Linked DNA regions of Homo sapiens: region 2 is linked to region 1. Evidence: promoter capture Hi-C in 16 types of primary human blood cells and fetal thymus (Javierre and others, 2016). All regions are on one chromosome and are shown on one strand. Each heading gives the region's core, a stretch centred on a gene start or on the middle of the fragment in contact. The rest is flanking DNA. Distances are from core to core; before and after follow the strand shown.

Evidence for each region. Contacts are between HindIII fragments. The CHiCAGO score rates a contact against its expected background, and 5 or more counts as called.
Region 2: a contact is called between a fragment that was not itself captured here and the fragment with the promoter of MEGF9 in region 1, in 4 of 17 cell types (non-activated CD4 T cells, activated CD4 T cells, erythroblasts and 1 more). The highest score is 5.4, in non-activated CD4 T cells.

The regions. Positions count from the first base shown.
Region 1 is chr9:120,712,577-120,715,938 of GRCh38, reverse strand. MEGF9 (multiple EGF like domains 9) reads left to right here and starts at 1,469. Exons shown (of 6, transcript NM_001080497.3): 1 at 1,469-2,181. The coding sequence starts at 1,581. RefSeq lists a silencer at 932-1,781. The HindIII fragment of the contact is 2,825 bases long and covers 734-3,362 here.
Region 2 is chr9:120,978,191-120,981,552 of GRCh38, reverse strand. C5 (complement C5) reads left to right here. Exons shown (of 41, transcript NM_001735.3): 28 at 1,299-1,470. Among named protein-coding and RNA genes, the nearest start is that of C5-OT1, 27 kb to the right of the region's middle. The HindIII fragment of the contact is 677 bases long and covers 1,461-2,137 here.

The DNA.
Region 1 (3,362 bases), core at 220-2,719:
TACACAGCCTCCCCCACCCACTACTCATGCAGGAAAATAAATGCATGCTTTAATTAACATACACGGGTTCACACATAAATCTCATCCTGCTGGTCTGGTTGAAGACCAATGACTAATGGGAAACCATGCACAAAGCCAAACATCACGTAGGGGAGGCCGGGATTGGGTTAGCAGTGGGGCTTGAATTAAGCCCCATCAGATGACAAACCCGCCCTGCCTGGCTTCCTCTGGAAGCTGCTGAGCCGAAGCAGCAGCGCCTGACCTAGCTCTGGATCCTGGGCGGATGATGCGAGGCTGCGTGCCCGAATTCCAGCTTGATTCAGGGTTTAGTGTCATCCAGGGTCAAGCTCGGCTATTAGCCCCACCCCAACCCCTGCAACCAGCCGGAGGCTCTGGGGGCACTGAAGGGCTGTGGCCTGGGGCTGCTTTCTAATCCTGGGCTTGCCCTGGCGCAAATGCTGAGAATAGTTAGCATTAATGAGGGTTACAACAGTGGGCCAGGCTCTGGGCTAAGCCCTTTACGTCCATGACTTAATTCTCACAACAGCTCTGTGAGGGGGGTGGGGGGTGAGGGGTGTCCTATCATCTCCATTTTAGTGGTGAAAAAACCGCGCTCAGGCCACAAAACCATTCAGCAAAAGACATCAAGTTGAGGTTCAACCCTGTCTGATCCTATTCTTCCCGGGGTTTAGGTAAGTGTGCTTGCGAGCCTGTCTCCTCCACGCAGGAAGCTTGCACCTTCTGCCCTCAGGGGTCTCCACCGCCCGGTCCCGCCCCCTTGTCCAGTCTGGCACAACACCTGGCCCACAGCAGGTTTCTGGTGAGGGCGTGGGTCTCGGTTCAGGGAGGCCCTCAGCAAGGGCCTCAGCTTCCCCATCTCTGAAATGGGAATGGCGGCAGAGACCTCGCAAGGCTGCGACCAGGCTCTCTGGAGCAGCAGAGGGCATGCCAAGCTCTACATCGTCGCTGCCGCTGCCCTCTCCCATCGCGGGGTTCCCGCGCGGTCCCCGCCCGAGCTGGGGTGCGGCGCTGGCGCCCCATTGTTCAGGAGGGCGGGGATGCTCCCGAGTGCTGATTCCACCCCCCGCTCGTGCTCGCAGCCCGGTGGAGCAGATGACTAGGCCCGGCGTCTGCCGCGCGGGGCGCATCCTTTGTCTGCTCCGCGGCGCCCGGTGCCCGAGGCCCGCGCCCCACTCTTTGGGCAGACAAAGCCGGGGCCGCCGCGAGCCCGGCGGGCTAGAGCTGGGCTCGCACCACCCTTCTCCCGCCTCACGGACCGCCCCCTCTCCTGGACGTCCTCTGATTGGCCTACGGGGCTACAAAGAGGCCGGGAAGCGGGCGGATCACGTGGGCGACTGTGGCTTCCCATTGGTTAGGCGCGGCTGCCAATCGAGGAGGGCGGGCGGTCCGCGCTCGGTCCGGTCGCTCCCTCCGCGCTGGGGCCCGCCCGCGGGGCCGGCCGCCTGTCAGAGGGAGGTGGCGATGGTGCGCCCGGTGGCGGTGGCGGCGGCGGTTGCGGAGGCTTCCTTGGTCGGATTGCAACGAGGAGAAGATGACTGACCAACCGACTGGCTGAATGAATGAATGGCGGAGCCGAGCGCGCCATGAGGAGCCTGCCGAGCCTGGGCGGCCTCGCCCTGTTGTGCTGCGCCGCCGCCGCCGCCGCCGCCGCCGTCGCCTCAGCCGCCTCGGCGGGGAATGTCACCGGTGGCGGCGGGGCCGCGGGGCAGGTGGACGCGTCGCCGGGCCCCGGGTTGCGGGGCGAGCCCAGCCACCCCTTCCCTAGGGCGACGGCTCCCACGGCCCAGGCCCCGAGGACCGGGCCCCCGCGCGCCACCGTCCACCGACCCCTGGCTGCGACTTCTCCAGCCCAGTCCCCGGAGACCACCCCTCTTTGGGCGACTGCTGGACCCTCTTCCACCACCTTTCAGGCGCCGCTCGGCCCCTCGCCGACCACCCCTCCGGCGGCGGAACGCACTTCGACCACCTCTCAGGCGCCGACCAGACCCGCGCCGACCACCCTTTCGACGACCACTGGCCCGGCGCCGACCACCCCTGTAGCGACCACCGTACCGGCGCCCACGACTCCCCGGACCCCGACCCCCGATCTCCCCAGCAGCAGCAACAGCAGCGTCCTCCCCACCCCACCTGCCACCGAGGCCCCCTCTTCGCCTCCTCCAGGTGAGTCCGGCGCTCCCTCTCGGGCAGGACCCGTCCTCACCTCAGCCCCGGCAATCTAGGGTTGGGCTCTTGCCTATAATTTATCGTTTGTTACCCCAAAGACACCCCAGGTTCCGGCTCCCGAGGGGGGATCCCAGGTCCAGCTAGTCTCCCTCCCGCCCCCGATCAATCTGGAAAGTCTTTTGTCCCCCGTGGGCTGTGCTCCCTCGGGAGGGGGTGGCTGCTGGGTGGAAGGCATCTCATCTTCTTCCCAACAGGGCTTTCTGGCCTTTTTCAGAGACCAGAATGGGCGCAAACTTTTGGGTTGGGTTCGCGCACCCAGCCTCTCTGCCTGGGTTATTTGGGGAAGTTTGAAAGCCCGCATAGTACCTCCTTCAACCACTGGGTCAAAAGCTGAGGGTAAGGAATTCCTCCCAAAGCTCCAGTTTCCCTGTTCATTTCTTCTTGTTTATGTAAATATCAGATGTGTGTGTATGACAGGTGGAAGAGAGGTAGTGAGAGGATTTTGTTTACAAACAGTAGTATGGACCACTTGAGGGCAAAAAATAAAAACAAAAAAGGCATTGTAATCCATGTTGTCCCTGCAAATAAGTGGATTCAGTAGGTCATTTGGGACAGGTGTGTATCTAGGCTGAGCACATTTACAAATTAGGTTAAATCTCTTCCTCGCACCATTTTTTTCTTCCACAATTATAAGGTCAACATGTTTGGCCAAATACACCATTTAAGCAAGGATGCCTATTTTTGTCTCCTTAAGCCAGGATGTTCAACTTTGCTGATGCTGATATATGCCAATTTCTGTTTGAGCCCACGTAGAAAAGGCTTTTCTTGCTGAAGTCTTCAAGCAAAGTTAAAGACAACTCGTATTCTTTCCCCGTTTAAATCTTAAGTGGGCCTAGGACTAAAACAAAACAAAACAAAAGCCTACTTTGTCAGAACGTTTGGACAAAAGTTTCTGAATTGTCTTGCTTTGAGTTGGGGTGGAGGTTTGTCCAAATCCTTTGTCTAGCTGGGTCTCTGACCTAAATCTTAGGCTTAGTGATTTACTGTGGAGTCAGGTATGGACTTTGGACTATAATTGAGTGTGTAGAGAATTTTCCCACATGGTTATGAACCTTAATACAGTCTTGATCCTTGGGTTGGAGCTTGGCAATGACATAAGTAGGATTATTCACCCATAA
Region 2 (3,362 bases), core at 550-3,049, 270 kb before region 1:
CTGGGACTGGGATGGAAGAATGATCCAGTGCCCCCAGCTTCTCTGTCTTATCTTTGCTAAATCCTGCTTTATATGTTACTGTTATCCTATAGTGAAAGCATTCTGTATCATGCAAGTACTGAGGATACACAACAGCAAATGTGTATCCTCCAAATCCTTCCAAACAACATTTGCTTGGAAACGGGAGAAAAGTGATGAGCCACCTAAGTAAATCAACATAGAAGATTTCCAAGGTTGAGATGGAAAATCTCAAGTGGATTTGCAAAACTGGAAGCACAAAACAAAACCATTTGTTTTCAGTTTGTTTCAGAAGCTTAACAAGACAAAATAATCAATGAAGACTAGTTCCCAGGCACCTAGTGGCCACATGGGTGAGAGATGCATGTGGAGCTGGGAGAGGAGGCAGGCAGGATGTTAGCAGCATCGCAGCAGGCTTTCTGCTGGCCCACTTGCCCAACACAACCATTTTGGTGGCGTCAGGACTAGTGATCGGGACTATTTACCCAGGCATTCTTAGGATCTAAAAGTACTGTGGCAGTTAGGGTTTCTTTCTGCTACTTATTGTTTTATTTATTTATTTTTTTAAGTGTAACTCCTTTTGAACCTGTGTGCCTGTTGCAACTACGCTGAGAGGGAACAATAAAAGTTGTGTCTATGGGCCGGGTGCAGTGGCTCACGCCTGTAATCCCAGCACTTGGGAGGCCGAGGCGGGCGGATCACAAGGTCAGGAGATTGAGACCATCCTGGCGAACACGGTGAAACCCCGTCTCTACCAAAAATACAAAAAAAAAAAATTAGCCGGGCGTGGTGGCGGGGCGCCTGTAGTCCCAGCTACTCCGGAGGCTGAGGCAGGAGAATGGCGTGAACCTGGGAGGCGGAGCTTGCAGTGAGCCGAGATCGCAGCACTGCACTCCAGCCTGGGCGACAGAGCGAGACTCCGTCTCAAAAAAAAAGAAAAAAAAAGAAATTGTGTCTATGCTCGGTGCCTTTTCTTCCTGGAGGCTAGGTCTGACGGTGTACTCAGAAACTAAAGGCACAAAACCTCTAAAAGGAAAGTGAGAATTCAGAGGCAAAAAGCTTAACCTGATTTGGACAACCTCATTGTCCCTTCCAAGATTATGCTCTGCTCCTTCTCTCGGAGGGATTTGCTTCACTGAGAAGCCATCCATTTCCATTAGGTCAGTCCTCTTTTCACCCCCATATTGCTTGCTCCAGGATAGTGGGATCTGAGGGTAGTTCATATCAATTGATAGGTGGTTGCTTGACATAGAAACTGAAGTATCTTCTCTTGTTTCCAGAAAATCGACACAGCTCTAATTAAAGCTGACAACTTTCTGCTTGAAAATACACTGCCAGCCCAGAGCACCTTTACATTGGCCATTTCTGCGTATGCTCTTTCCCTGGGAGATAAAACTCACCCACAGTTTCGTTCAATTGTTTCAGCTTTGAAGAGAGAAGCTTTGGTTAAAGGTATAACTTGTTCCATACATGTATTCAGTGAGTGTTCACTAAGACATAAAGTCTGCTAGTCTGGGAAGTGGGTGGTGACATGTGAACTTGAGTAAGATGCAATTCCTGTCCTCAAGGAACAAACCGTCACAATACGATGTAATGTGTGCCGTTATTCATTCATTTATTCATGCATTCATTCAGCAAATATTTATTCTTTTTTTTAAGACAGGTTCTCGCTCTGTCACCCAGGCTGGAGTGCAGTGGCATGATCGTGGCTCACTGCAGCCTCGATCTCCTGGGCTCAAGTGATCTTCCCACCTCAGTAGCTGGGACTACAGGTGCCCACCACTGAACCCAGTTACTTTTTTTTATATTTTGCAGATACGAGTCTCACTGTGTTTCCCCGGATGATCTCAAATGCCTGGGCTCAAGCACTCCTACTGCCTCAGCCTTCCAAAGTGCTAGGATCACAGGCATGAGCCACCACACCTGTCCTCTATTTATTCCTTTATTCAATAAATATGCATTGAGTATCCTATGTACACCCTGGACACCCCCTATATACCTGGCACTATTCCAGTCTCTGGGAATAAAGGAATAAACAAAACAGGCTCCCCAAAATCCAGGCCATCATGAAACTTAAATTCTAACTGGGGAGACACAAACATGATAAATAAATAAAGCTTTATGAATAGATGGTGATGGCTGATATGAAGAAAAATAGAGCAGGGAAAGAAAATAAGGTGAGAGGATGCATTGTAATTTTAGACAAGCTGACTGGGCTTAAGTTTCACTAAGAGGATGGTGTTTGAGTCAAGAGCTGAAAGGAGGTGAAGAAGCAATTCCTGTGGCTATCTAGAAGGAAGTACCTGGTGGAGAACAGCACGTGCAAATGCCCTGAGGCATGGGCATGCCTGGTGCTCCAAGAATGGCAAGGAGGCCAGTGTGACTGCAGAGGAGTGAGAAGAGGAGTAGGAAGTGAGGTCAGGTAAGGAAAAAGTGAGGGAGCAAGGGAAGGTCATTTAAGGCATTAGAGAGACTCTTCAGGGCTTCTGTAAACAGTTGTGCCGTGGACAAAGTACCTAAGCAATCAAGTGAATCGAGGCTGAAATCTAGCCTGTGCTCCACTCCCCCGGCCACATACCCTAGTTTAGGGCTGCTTCCACCTAGAGCAAGGAGTGCCCATGTCTTATCCACAGCAATGTGCTGTGGGGACCAGAAGGAGCCCTAGAACTTTAATTTCAGCTTTGAGAGTGAAAAGGGGAGCCACTGGGGGATTTTGAGCAAAGGAGTGCATGACCTGGCTTATATTTTACCAGGTTTGCTATAAAAGTATGTGTTTGGTTTTGAAGAATAAAGATACTGCTTCCTATAGGTCAAGAGACAAAAAATAGAAAGAGAGTAGCAGTGATTATTAGCATGGTTGGGCACTTTGGAGTCCTCTTCTAGCTAAGGCTTTATAAATCTTACTGAGGTTTATGACCATCTACAAAATATGATTTGTGCCATCATTTTAAAATTACTATATTTTAACATATGCCTCAAAACCACTTGTACGATACTTCAAAAATAACACAAAAGAAATGTCTTGGGTATTGTGAGATATGGGTCATAAAATCATAAAATTTAAGATCTAGAAGGGAACTTAATAATCCAAGAGTTGTTCCAGTTGGGTTTCTTTAAAATCCTAAACTCAACTCTTCATTTTAAATACAGCAAATCTGAGACTCTGAGAGGAAGGGTCAATATCATTTTCAAGGTCATGCAAATAATGTAGTTATGAATTATAAACATACACATCAAAATTTTTACTAACCTTCAAATATGATTTCCAAATATGCATTACTTTTTTTAAAACAAATAGTTTGTTCCAAAAAGGATTTGAGGTTTACAGGTTTAAATAACAAATA